3 separate regions of the Homo sapiens genome follow, and all the other regions are linked to region 1. Evidence: promoter capture Hi-C in 16 types of primary human blood cells and fetal thymus (Javierre and others, 2016). All regions are on one chromosome and are shown on one strand. Each heading gives the region's core, a stretch centred on a gene start or on the middle of the fragment in contact. The rest is flanking DNA. Distances are from core to core; before and after follow the strand shown.

Evidence for each region. Contacts are between HindIII fragments. The CHiCAGO score rates a contact against its expected background, and 5 or more counts as called.
Region 2: a fragment that was not itself captured here is called in contact with the fragment with the promoter of OPHN1 in region 1 in 4 of 17 cell types (M1 macrophages, M0 macrophages, M2 macrophages and 1 more); the score reaches 8.4 in M1 macrophages.
Region 3: a contact is called between a fragment that was not itself captured here and the fragment with the promoter of OPHN1 in region 1, in 1 of 17 cell types (M1 macrophages). The highest score is 5.8, in M1 macrophages.

The regions. Positions count from the first base shown.
Region 1 is chrX:68,431,053-68,435,325 of GRCh38, forward strand. It overlaps OPHN1 (oligophrenin 1), which reads right to left and starts at 2,443. Exons shown (of 25, transcript NM_002547.3): 1 at 2,116-2,443; 2 at 1,815-1,972. The coding sequence starts at 1,968. The HindIII fragment of the contact is 12,772 bases long and covers 1-4,273 here.
Region 2 is chrX:68,190,999-68,195,271 of GRCh38, forward strand. OPHN1 (oligophrenin 1) reads right to left here. Exons shown (of 25, transcript NM_002547.3): 13 at 3,467-3,500; 14 at 2,892-2,954; 15 at 1,921-1,995. Among named protein-coding and RNA genes, the nearest start is that of OPHN1, 240 kb to the right of the region's middle. The HindIII fragment of the contact is 1,903 bases long and covers 880-2,782 here.
Region 3 is chrX:68,278,047-68,282,319 of GRCh38, forward strand. All of the region lies in intron 4 of OPHN1 (oligophrenin 1), which reads right to left. Among named protein-coding and RNA genes, the nearest start is that of OPHN1, 150 kb to the right of the region's middle. The HindIII fragment of the contact is 1,569 bases long and covers 1,517-3,085 here.

The DNA of each region.
Region 1 (4,273 bases), core at 1,193-3,692:
TGGGGACACAGCACCAAGCAGTTTACTGTAATATATAAACAAAACAAAACAAAGCTGAAACATTCCTCCTTTTCCTTTCCGTGAACTCTCACCTTTCTACTTATGTAGCACAACCTGCATATCCTTAACCTCTTAAGGATCAGCATTTCAGATACTACTAGGAGTTTACTCTTGGTCAGGCCACAATAAGACAAATCATTAAAAGATCAAACACAATCAAATGACCTGCAGGAACTTCGACAGTGTACATATTCTGACCAAAAGTGGGCAGAGAGCATGTGAAGGAAAAGCACCGACTCCACAGGGCAAATCAGAAGGGCTGCACAAGAAATACCAGCTGGCAGCAGTTACCAACACACTACCACTTTCTTTTCTTTTTTTGAGATGGAGTTTCACTCTTGTTGCCCAGGCTGTAGTGCAATGGCACGGTCTCGGCTCACTGCAACCAACATCTCCTGGGTTCAAGTGATTCTCCTGCCTCAGCCTCCTGAGTAGCTGGAATTACAGGTGCCTGCCACCATGCCCAGCTAATTTTTTTTTTTTTTTTGTATTTTTAGTAGAGACAGGGTTTCACCATGTTAGCCAGGCTGGTCTCGAACTCCTGATCTCAGGTGATTCACCCGCCTTGGCCTCCCAAAGTGCTGGGATTACAGGCGTGAGCCACCTCGCCCAGCCTCGCACTACCACTTTCAAATCTTTCTTTCTCCCTGCTCTTGGTTGACTGCATCCGCCTAAGAAGGTTGCCACACTGGTCCTAGACCCTGTATTTGGTGATAAATTCACTCAAAACAAAGTTATAACCATATAGGACATACTTGCCAATGACTCTGAGTTTATTTTTCACAATCATCTTTCAGCCAAGAGAAAAAATTAATTATCACTCCACCCAATCATTACCCTCCATTCTTCTGTGTATATGCTTTGGCATAAAGGGTTGGCTTGCCTGCACTCTCGTTGGGGATGTTTATTATTCTTTCTTTTACTCCAAGCCTCCTACCAACAAGCAGAAAAAAAACCTCCACACACAATGGGGGAAGGAGAGAGCTTCCCACAGCTGAGTCAGCTGTGAGCACTGGAAAAGCGAAGCTAGGTGAAGTTCCTTCAGCCCAGCAGCCCCCAACCCTATCCCTATTTTACTCCCTGGGGGCTGGGCCCCTTGTGGCAGGGACTAAGTAGTCAGCTCTTTGTTCCACACTCAAGCAGAATTCAGTGGCAGGTGAAGCCATCCAATAATCCTGAACTTAGACTGACCTTGACCTAAACCATAGCTCAGTGTGATAAAGAAAATAATTCACTGGGGCAAAGGTGCTTTCCTTAAAAAATAACTTGCCATGGCGAATTTTTTACTGCCCCCCACACTTATCTGTAGCAACCAGAGACCAGGACAAAATTATTATTCAAGCTGCTGACCTTAATCCCCAATTGTTTAGGAGGTGCTGGGGCAGTTCCTTGGTCAGCTTGGATGTCACTTTGCCCCAGACAGGGGTGCTGAATATGTCTAACAGTACAGCAGATTGTCCCTTAAGAACAATCATCTGCCAAGTAAGGGTAATTGCTGAGCAAGAGGGTCCCTGGCACAGCTACGGATCACGTCTTATAAGGTCAAAACCACTAAAGGAAAAGGCCCAAAGTTCTGGTTGTATCCACCACTTTCCACTTCTACTATCTCCACTCCCCAAGTGTGGGAAACCCATTTGCCTCAGAGATCTGGGCTGGGAGTCACCCTGCAATCTCCCTTCCCCTGGTGGTGTGGAAAGGCTTAAAGGCCAGACACACCAGCTCAGAGAAACAGCTCATCGAAGCCTTGCACTTACTTCTCATAGCGCTGATAAGCGCGTTGCCGTCTTTGATTACGTCTTTGATGAATTTGTTGGTCCTCTCCAGTTCCTGCTCATAACACTTGAGCCTCTCGCGGAAATCGGGGCTGTCCAGGTAGCAGTCGCTGAACTCCAGCGGGGGATGACCCATGGTTCTGATGGCCGGGAGTAGGGGGAAAGGGGAAAGACACAAAGACCGAGAGCATCAATGGCACAGTAGAGGAAGTAGAGGGGACGGACTGAGCGCGCGACCCGCTTAAGGAAGCTCATAGCCTCCGTCCCTTTGGAGGACAGGTACCTGTTTCAGTGAGACTCCTGAGGAGCGCTGGCTGGTCCGGACAGAGAACAGGCGCCCCGGCGATGGCTTCAGGGCCAGGGAGAGCTAACTATCGCAGTCGGATCCCGGCAGGGTGCTGCCTAGCAAGCAGCATGTCCCTTAGGCATCGCCTTCCCAGATAAGCAGCAAAAACCGCAGCCCGACTTGCCTCCGGAGACGGGCCGGATCCTTCCTGAGCAATTGCAAACGTGACACTTGGGCCCGCCCAAGGTGTAGGCGAGGTTAGAGCTGGAGCTGGGAACAGCCTCTCTACAGGCTCCTCGCTCCGGAGCGAGCGGAAGACTTCCTTGGCCGAACTCCGCGGGCAACCCGGATTGCACTGTCCCCTCCCCTTTCTTAAAGCCAACGCCTGCGCCCCGCCCCAGCGAAGCCCGAGGACCAAACCGGAGCGCTCTGGCTCCTTCCTCAACTGTTTTCCTTGTACCTTAGAGTTTCCTGACCAGGGCCCGCTGGCTGCTAAGACTTCTTCCTGGTGCAAGGGAGCCGGCCGGCCGGCCGTCCTTTTAGGCGCCGGAAGGGTTAAGCCAGGGCGGCAATGAAACGTAGCCTCGCTCCATAGACACTGCAGCGGGAAGAGGAGGGCGAGAGCGCGACGCACAATAGCCGCGGTAGCCCAGCGCTTCCCTACGGAAACTGGGGAGCAGTCAGCGCCCTAGGACTCCAGCTGGAAAGCGTGGCGGCCTGGGAGATGTAGTCTTTCCGTTTGCACTCCCCAAGACTCCTCCCTGCAGTCTCCCCACCACCCCGCCTGGGAGGCTGCTCTCCCAGAACGGCATTCCCAGCCTGCCGCAGGCTCCTGCGCAGGGACCGGCCCCAAGGGGCAGGTGCGCGGCGCTGGACTCTGCGGGGGAAGTTTCCGAAACTAGAGCAAGAACCCGCAAGACTAGATTGCAGGAAGCCATCTCTCAATTCCCATGATTCGGCTGGGTTGTGTATTCTTTTGCCTTCCCCTCTTTCCAGCCTCCTTCGGACCTACCAACTTCTTTTCCTCTTTCTTTTCCCATGTCTCCTGCTCTAAGTGCTCTAATTCCCTTGGGCCTTCGACCTGAAGGGTTGATTCCTACTCTAGGGTCTCCGTGAAGCTCAGTGCCCCCTGCCAAAGAAAGGGAGGCCATAATTCAGAGTTAATATTTTCCTGAATAGGACCTCAGAGCATGGCTTTTGTGGCAGACGCCGATAATGCATATGATTTTCCATGTGTAAGTGGAAAGTCTAAGAATAGGATGTTATAAATTGTCTTGCAGCTTACCTTAAAGGCAGCTGTCTTGAGACTAAGGGTAGGTAGAGGCTCGAAAAACTAAAAAATAGTTTGTGCGTGGGCAAAGAGATCCCTTTAATTCTGCAGAAGTGTTTACATTAGATTGCCCTGTGAAGAAAGCCAGAACGGAAGGGGGTTGTAAATAGAATAATAGTGGCTGACCCACCTGAATTAGGGTCCTGTTGCTGCTGTGACAAATTACCACAAACTTGATGTCCTAAATCAGCATAAAGTTATAATCTACAGTTCCAGAAGGCAGAAATCAGAAATGGGCCTCACTGGGATCAAATCAAGATGTTAGAAGGGTTGTGTTCATTTTCAGATAGTCTAGGGGTAGAATCTGGTTCCTTACCTTTTCCGGCTCAAGCTGCTCACATCCTTTGGCTCATAGCTCCCTTCCTCCGTCTTTAAAGCTAGCACTGGCCAGTCAAGTCTTTCTCATGCTACATCACTGTGATTCTCATGCCTCCCCTTAAGGACCCTTATGATTACACTGGGTCCACAGGATAATCTCCCCCATCACATCATCCTTAATCACATCTGCAAATTTCATTTTGCCACATAAGATAACGTAGCCACAGGTTTCAGGACATGGACATCTGTGAAGGAGGAAACATTATTCTACCCACCACACAACCTATCGCCCATCTCACTAATCTTCAAAACAACCCTATGAGGATGGTTTTATTATTATACCCATTTAAAGATGGAGAAGCTGGGTCAAAGAGAGTTTAAGTGACTTGCCGAAGGACAAACAGCTAGTTAAATGGCAGCACTTGAACTTGAGCCCAGCCTGGCTGGCTCTAGAGGTAGTGCTCTTGACCACTACACTATATAGCAGAATGGCAATGAGAAAACGCC
Region 2 (4,273 bases), core at 581-3,080, 240 kb before region 1:
AAATGTGAGTAGGGTTGGTTGTCAGACCTGCAGGCTTGTGAGAGATTAGCTATGCATCACAGTAAGGACCAAAAAATATGTATTTTATCCAAACTGCAGTTTTCCACACTCAATTTGTTCTCTGACACTGTGAAAACTCAGCTTACAAGATGCTTCACTGCCACCCACGAAAGGAAGAAGGGTAGGTTTGCAGGGAGAGAAATGCAGGTAGATACCTGTGAACCATCTATGTAAAGAGAGCTTGTGCAGAGACTCCAATATTGACTCCCTCAGCCTTTAGGGCTTCTTGCCTCAGTGATGTCCATTTACCCGAGCATGCTATATAAAGATGATCATTCTGATATGTGCCATGACCTTAATATGACTGAGAAGCACAAGTGCAGTGGGCAAGTGAATATTTGCATTTAGAACTCATCAGATGATGTCTGGAACAGAGATTTTGTGAGTTGTCAGCATAGAGGTGCTAGTAAAAAGCATAAAGAGAGAATACCACTGCCAGCCATGGTGGACTAACTGGTATCAGACTTGCCTTCCTGCTGTAACAACTAGAAAACTGGACAGTATATAGGAAACTCCTGCATGTAGTTATTGAGCAACAGACAAAACAGGACTATGACTCTGAGAAGAGGGATACAAACAAGATAACTGCTACCTTCTCCACAGCTTGCTTCTTAAAAGCACTTTTTAGATTGCAGCAGATGGAGTGGGAACTCAAGCTGAGCATGGAAGTCTTGCTCAGCTGAAGAGATAAGGATCAAAGTTTAGGAAGGTTGAAGCAGCTATAACTAGCAAGGCACAGTACCAGAGAAGAGTGAGCTATGTGGAAAAAGAGCTCAACAACCTTACCTGGGGGTGGATACTTTATATCTGGCCCAACAAAGCTTAAAAAGAAGACTCAAATAAATCAAATTGATCCACAAATAACTGCCCACAAAACAAAATTCAGTCCTCTTTAAAAGAAATCAACAAAATCAAGACATTCAGTAAGTCACAACATCCAGCAACCAATAAAGATTACAAGAAATGTTTTTTAAGAAACAAAAATGTGAGCCATAACCAGAATAAAAAAAAATCAATCAATAGAAAAACATATTAAAAAAAAAGAAGTAAACCAAGAACAAAGATAGAACTGTAGGAAACACACAGTCAAGGTGTAAAAAACAGAAAGATAAAGGTTCAGCAAGTTATTGAAAAGGAATCCTATAAGATGTTAGAAGAGGTCAGGCATTGTGGCTCATGCCTGTAATCCCAGCACTTTGGGAGGCAAAGGCAAGAGGATGATTGAAGGCCAGAAGTTCAAGACCAGCCTAGGCAATATAGTGAGACCCCATCACTACAAAAAAATTAAAAATCAGCCTGGTGTAGTGGCACACGCCTATAGTCCCAGCTACCCAGGAGGCTCAGGTTGAGGATGCAGTGAGCCATGATCATGCCACTGCACTCCAGCCTAGGCGACAGAGCTAGACCCTGTCTCAAAAAAAAAAAAAAAAGATGTGAGAAGAATCAGAAGAGTGCTGATGTGTTATGGAAGTCACGAAGTCATGTAAGGAGAAAGTTTCAAAAAAGAGAAAGTGGTCAACAAGGAGATCAAGTAAGACACAAACTCAAAAGTATTCACTGGATTTGGTAAGAAGATACCGACTAAGCCTGGCCACACAGTTCCAGTTGAGATGTAGGGAAAGAAGTTGTATTGCTGAGGGTTTCTGGAGTGAATGGGATACGAGGAAGGAGAGATAACAGCCATTTTCAAGGTACGATTGACTCTGCCCAGGGTGGGCAAGTATGTGTATGTTTTACTTTAGAAAATACTTTTTTCAACTATTCTACCACATTTTAGCAGTGTCTCCTTTCTCTTCCAGTCACATTTCTTTGTAACACATAAAGTACTCCCAATAAGAATTATCAAAGTAAAATTGTTACCAAAAAAGGCATTCAGCAGCTTCTGAACCTGAATATTGCTGCCCACAGTGCGGTACAACCCTTCTGTCTTGATCCCTAGTGGAGGAAAAAATCAGGTTAATTTCACTTGTATAGCTAGAGTTGTCATCTCCCCTTGGTACACTAGGGTCAATTCAGATAGGAAGGGGTCACACTACATACTCCAAGTTCTCCAGCCTTCCCTGTAACAGGGGAATAGTCCTACAGCATCTCTCCAAATTATCCATCCTTTCATTTGGAGTGTACCAAACCCTCATTAATCTGAAGAGAAGAAAACAAACTCTATAGTAAATAGAAGCATATGCTTAGTTTGGGCGGCAGCAGAAAGCTGAGAATGGTGCTGCCATCTTAGAAAGAAGTTCATTCAATTGAAAAAGGAGGAAGGATCAACCCTCAAGTTGCTTCTAAGCAGTGATATAAATCACGAGAGGGCTGGAGTAAGGCAGCTGTGAAACAAAAGGCCATTTCCTGCACCAAGAAAGACTAAAAAAACATTTCAAAGAACAAAGAGACTTGATTCACATACCACACTTGCCCACAGTCTAAATATCCTCAGAAGGAAACCAGGGAGTATCGGCAACCAGGAAGAATGCTGATTCCACATCTCCCTGAGTTTGGCTCTGCCCCATCAATTTTCATACCAGTATGTACTGTGGCAGAAATTGAACTCTTGATCATTTAGGATAGAACCATCATGACACTGCTTAAGGAGTGCCAGGTACTGTTTGAGAATACTTTATAAACTTATAAGCTCTTTAAAAGCAGGAATCCAAATTATCCAAATATGCTTGCATACCACTAGTTTAGAATTTTCTGAAATTTTCTAGCTTGCATCTACTACACAAGCTTTATAAACAGTCTTCATTCCTAAAACGCTACTTCAGAGAAATTGCCCAGGATAAAATCAGAGTGACGAGATTCAGACAATGCCAAGACTATGGTTCAGATCTTACCTTTGGTCTCAATAATATTGATGCACTTCCTGACAAACTTGAAGCCCACTTCATTTAGCTCCACTGTTTCAAGCAAAGGAAAAGAGTTAGATCCTGCTGCAACAGGTGTCACCTATTAAACATTTAATGACCATGCAAAGGGACTGCATTGAGAGAGCTAAGGGTTTTTAGTTGCTCATTTCTAGTCACCCTTAAATGGAAAGAGTCATTTTTTCAGGGGAGGTTTAACATTTTAACTCTTATAACACAAAATACTTATATTTAGCCCTTTGAATTGTCTGCTTTCAGCATGAGCAAAGTCATATGTGAAATGTTAGCCTAAAAATACAATTTCTATCATGCTTCCAGAACAGGAAGGATATGTTTCTCTACCCACGATGTAAGCTAACACCAAGTGTCTACCTTAGTTCAATTACCAGACACATTTAAAAAATATATGGCTGAATTTTATTTCACACAAAGGCATCCATATTCAGACTTGCGTTAGTAGTACACATCATTAATGATGGTATTTACTATGAATCGGACAGCTGGCAGTTTATAATGCTAGTAGACCAAAAACTTAAGTGACTCACTTTCTTGCTGTTTTGTTATAGGGCTGTGGTAGATCTACAAAAGAAGATAAACAGAAAGATCCATGGCTATTGTCAATCAATATAGGAAAACAGAGAACATAATATTAAATATCTTTCCCCAGATAGGCATTAAAAATGATTAGAAACTCCAGGATGTTAAAAAGATAGCCAAGTGGGCTAAACATAATTGCTTTGCCAAGATTGCTAGAAAATACTTGAACAGGCCAGGCGTGGTGGCTCATGCCTGTAATCCCAGCAATTTGGGAGGCCAAGGCAGGCAGATCACTTGAGGTCAGGAGTTTAAGACCAGCCTGGCAAACATCATGAAACCCCATCTCTACAAAAATCCAAAAATTAGCCAGGCATGGTGGCGTGCACCTGTAATCCCAGCTGTTTGGGAGGTTGAGTCAGGAGAATCTCTTGAACCCAGGAGGTGGAGGCTGCAGTGAGCTGAGATCACACCACTGCACTCCAACCTGGGCAACAGAGCGAGACTCTGTCAAAAAAAAAAGAAAGAAAGAAAGAGAGAGAGAGAAAGAAAGGAAGGAAGGAAGGAAGGAAGGAAGGAAGGAAGGAAGGAAGGAAGGAAGGAAGGAAGGAAGAAAGAAAGAAAATACTTGAACAATCCCTGAAAATTACACTGAATTTCACACAGTTCACCATAGCTACAGTTTTAGCTAATCCATCTTAGATATTTACTTATGTAACACCTGGGGCATTTTTATGATAAAGCAAGAGACCAGGAAAGTGTTTTCCTCATGGCTATGTACCTGTCTAATGGGCATTATAAAATTTAAATGTTCCTAA
Region 3 (4,273 bases), core at 1,051-3,550, 150 kb before region 1:
TTTGACCCCAGTTCAGTCTGAAAAATAGTCCATGCTTTACTAGAATTGCAGGACATCATTTTCCCTTAATCACTTTGGCAACACTGCTCCCAGTCTCCTACAGCACAAACAGATACTCTGAATCTTTTCCTCTCTATGACACTCATTGGTTATTATACTATTTTCTGGTCAGAATAGAGACTTAGGAATGTAGAAAAAAGTCACATTGAGGATTTCCTCTTTTTTCTTTTTCACTCCATTTTATTCTTAAACCCCTTAGAACTCTAGCAATGACTCCCCTTTGAAGTAAATTTGGCCTTTAATCTCTTTTCTAATCACTGCATTCATTGTGTGAGCTCACTGGGGACAAAAACTCCCACCTGCTACCTCAGGTAGACTCTTCACCATAACGAGTGACATCCTAAACTCATTAGTGAGTTTCTATCATCAGAATCCTATTGAATAAAGGCCAAAGTAACACTGAAGGTGTTGAGCAGAATAGAGATGATATTCAGTCCAGTATTGCAGGACTGCTCAGGAATCTTTGATGGTAAATGAAATATCAAAAGAGAGCACTGGGCCAGGCGCAGTGGCTTGCGCCTGTAATCCCAGCACTTTGGGAGGCCAAGGCGGGTGGATCAGCTGAGGCCAGGAGTTCCAGGCTAGCCTGGCCAACATGGCAAAACCCCATCTCTACTAAAAATACAAAAATTAGCTGGGCATGGTGGTGGGTGCCTGTAGTCCCAGCTACTCAGGAGGCTGAGGCAGGAGAATCACTTGAACCCAGGAGGCGGAGGCTGCAGTGAGCCGAAATCACGCCACTGCACTCCAGCCTGGGCAACAGAGGGAGACTCCGTCACAAAAAATAAAATAAAAAAAATTTTTTTTTAAAAAAAGAGCACTAAAGACAGGCTGAAATATTATGGGGGCCTCTTTAGGTCACTTTTGGCCGTCTTCAAAAACAGACCTTGCACATTGCCAACAGAGGCCCCTTCAGAGTCAGAAAGGAATCTAGGCAAGCTTCATAATCATATAAGAAGTGTGCAATTCAGACTTTTCAAGGCCCTCCCCCGCTCTTTTTTTTTTTTTTTTTTTTTTTTTTTTTTTTTTGGCAGGGCCTTACTCGCCCAGGCTGTAGTACAGTGGCATGATCATGGCTCACTGCAGCCTTGACCTCCTCAGGTTCAGGTGATCCTCCCACCTCAGCCTCCCGAGTAGCTGGGACTAGAGATGCACGATAACGCCCAGCTAATTTTTGTATTTTTAGTAGAGACGGGATTTCACCATGTTGACCAGGCTGCTCTTGAACTCCTGGCCTCAAGCGATCTGCCTGCCTCAGCCTCCCAAAGAGCTAGGATTAAAAGCGTGAGCCACCGCACCCAGCCCCAACAGTATACTTTTGAGAACATCACAGGGATGCCCTTCCTCACTTCTCCCCATCATAATTCCTTCCCCAATTTATATTCATTTATGGAGATGACCAGACACAGGCAATTTCCATGCTTGAGTGCTGTGAACTTTCTTACTGTTATTCTAAAGCTTACTTTGGACTCTTCTTTTACAAAGGATAAAATGCAATATAAGACCCACTAAATTATCCAGACTGGGGTAGAGGGGTCCTTTTGCTACAAAGCCAGGAAATGGAAAAGTTATAATCAAGCAATGAATTCCTGGCATGGGGTGAAAGGCACTCATTAAGCCTAACCATCTCAGCATTCCTGGAATTAAGTGGGAAATAGGGAGCAAACACTCAATATACGATTGAAAAGTTGTTGGGACAAAAGGGCACAACATAATTAAAGACAGAAGAAAATGAGTCAGTCATGTGGCAAAGTATCAGCAGGAAGGGTGAGAAAAACAACATCTCAAAAGATGAATACTACTTCAATATGTGAGGGCTTTGTTATTGGGTAAATAAAAGAGATGGAGAAACAACTAGGGCTAAAGAGAAGTACAGCTGAGCTTTCTAGTGCTATCTGAATGAAATGGGGGCAAATGCCTTTGAAAACAACATAGGCAGCAGTCCACAAACCCTGTGGGCAGAGAAGAACATTTAGTAGACTGTGTATTAGCAAGGGGGCCATCTAAGAGGGTCCAGGGAAACCACACATATTGGTCTCTTCTTAGTACATTTAAAAGCAAATATTTTAAACTAAGAAAATTCCCAAATCATATTTCCACAAGCAGAATCCTGTGAGTAACTAAAGATAACTAAAAACCATGCTTACATAATCAGTATTTTCCCCTTATAAAACACGTCCATGTTTACTATGTTATTTGGAGCACTTTAAACAACCATAAGAGATGGGGATTATTTTCCTCACTCTACAAATAAGAAAAAGGAGCCCAGAAAAATGAAGTAATTAATCTGAAGTCAACAAGTTAGTGACAGATCCAGAATTAGAGCCTTAATTCTCTAATTCCCCTACCTCCAAGTCCTGCCTTCATTCCTACTTCTCTAGGAGTCTAGATTCTATGAGCAGTATTTTGAGAAGTCAGTACCACACTGTTGAAAAGAAAGGGATTTTATAGGTAAATTAGTTCTGGCTGTTGGAATAAATAGCTTTAACAAAACTGAGAAGCCCACAAAAAGTCATCTGATGGAGAAAAGTAAAACAGAATTCCCATCTTACCATCATGCCCCTAATAAAAATGAATATTGATCAACGCATACATTTCAACATTTAAGTCCCCAATAAGTCTGGGATGGGTACAAGGACCAGTATTTCCAATAATTTTCTGCTGGTGCTGGTCATGATGGTACTGCCGGTCTAAGGACCACACAAAAAGATTATTTTTAGGCTGTTAAAATAATTAGACTTCATAAAAATGAAACACTTAAGTAGAAATCTAGCAAAATACATAAAATATCTATATAAGGAAACTACAAAACTCTGATGAAAAAAATCAAAAAAGATATAAATAAATGGAGAGATAACCCACGTTTATAATTAGGAAAAGTCAATATTTTTAAGATATCAGTTTTTCCCTGGTAGCTTAAAAGCAAATCCTAATCAAAATCAAAAAGATATCTCTAGGATCTTAAAAGCAATCCCAGTCAAAATCCCAGCAAGTTATTTTGTGGATATGAACAAACTGATTCTTAAGCTTATACCTGACTTCAATGCTTTTTACTACAGTGCAATTACTACCATGCTAAAGTAATGAAGATAGTGTGGTATTTGTGAAAGAATAGATAAATAGATCAATGCAACAGAAATAGAGAGCCCAGATACAGACCCATATAAATATAGTCAAGTGATCTTTGATAAAGGACAAAAGGTAATTCAAGGAGAAAGAATAGTATTTTCAAAAAACAGTGTTGGAGCAACTGGATATCCACATGCAAAACAGTGAATCTAGACACAGACCTTATATCCTTCATAAAAATTAATTCAAAATGAATCATTGACCTAAATGTAAAACAAAAAGCTAAAAAATTCCAAAAATATAACATAGGAGAAAATCTGGGTGACCTTGGATTTGGAAAAGACTTTTTAGATATAACACCAAAAGTATGATCCATTAAAGCAAAAATGTGTAAGTTGGACTTCATTAAAATTAAAAACCTATGCAATGCAAAAGAGACTATTAAGAAAATAAAAAGACAAGCCACAGACGAGGAGAAAATCTTTGCAAATGCCTATTGGATAAAGGTCTGGAATCTAAAATATACAAAGAACTCTTAAAACTTAACAAAAGAAAATCAATTTAATAATAGGCAAAAGAACTGAACAAATACCTCACCAGAAAGGATATACCGATGGCAGTTAAGCATATGGAAAGATGCTCTGCATGATATGTGATTAGGGAGTTGCAAATTACAACAGTAATGAGATACCACTACACATCCGTGAGAATGGCTAAAATCCAGAACACTGACAACAGCAAATGCTGGTAAGAACATGGAGCTGGCGAGGACATGGAGCAACAGGATCTCTGATTCATTGCTGGTTATGCGAAATGGCACAGCTATTTTGGAAGTTGGTTGGCAATTTCTTACAAAATTAAACATACCCTGACAATTTACACTCCAGCAATTACACTCCTTATTATTTAACCAAATCAGTTGGAAATTTGTATCAACACAAAAACCTACATACAACTGTTTATAATAGTTTTCCTTATAATTGCCAAAATAACCAAGATGTCCCTCAGTAGGTGAGTGGACAAACTGTGGTAAATCATACAATGGGATATTACTTAATGATAAAAATAAATGACAGGAAAATAAAATGCATATTGCTAAGTCAAATACGCCAATCTGAAATGGCTACATACTGTTTGATATCTA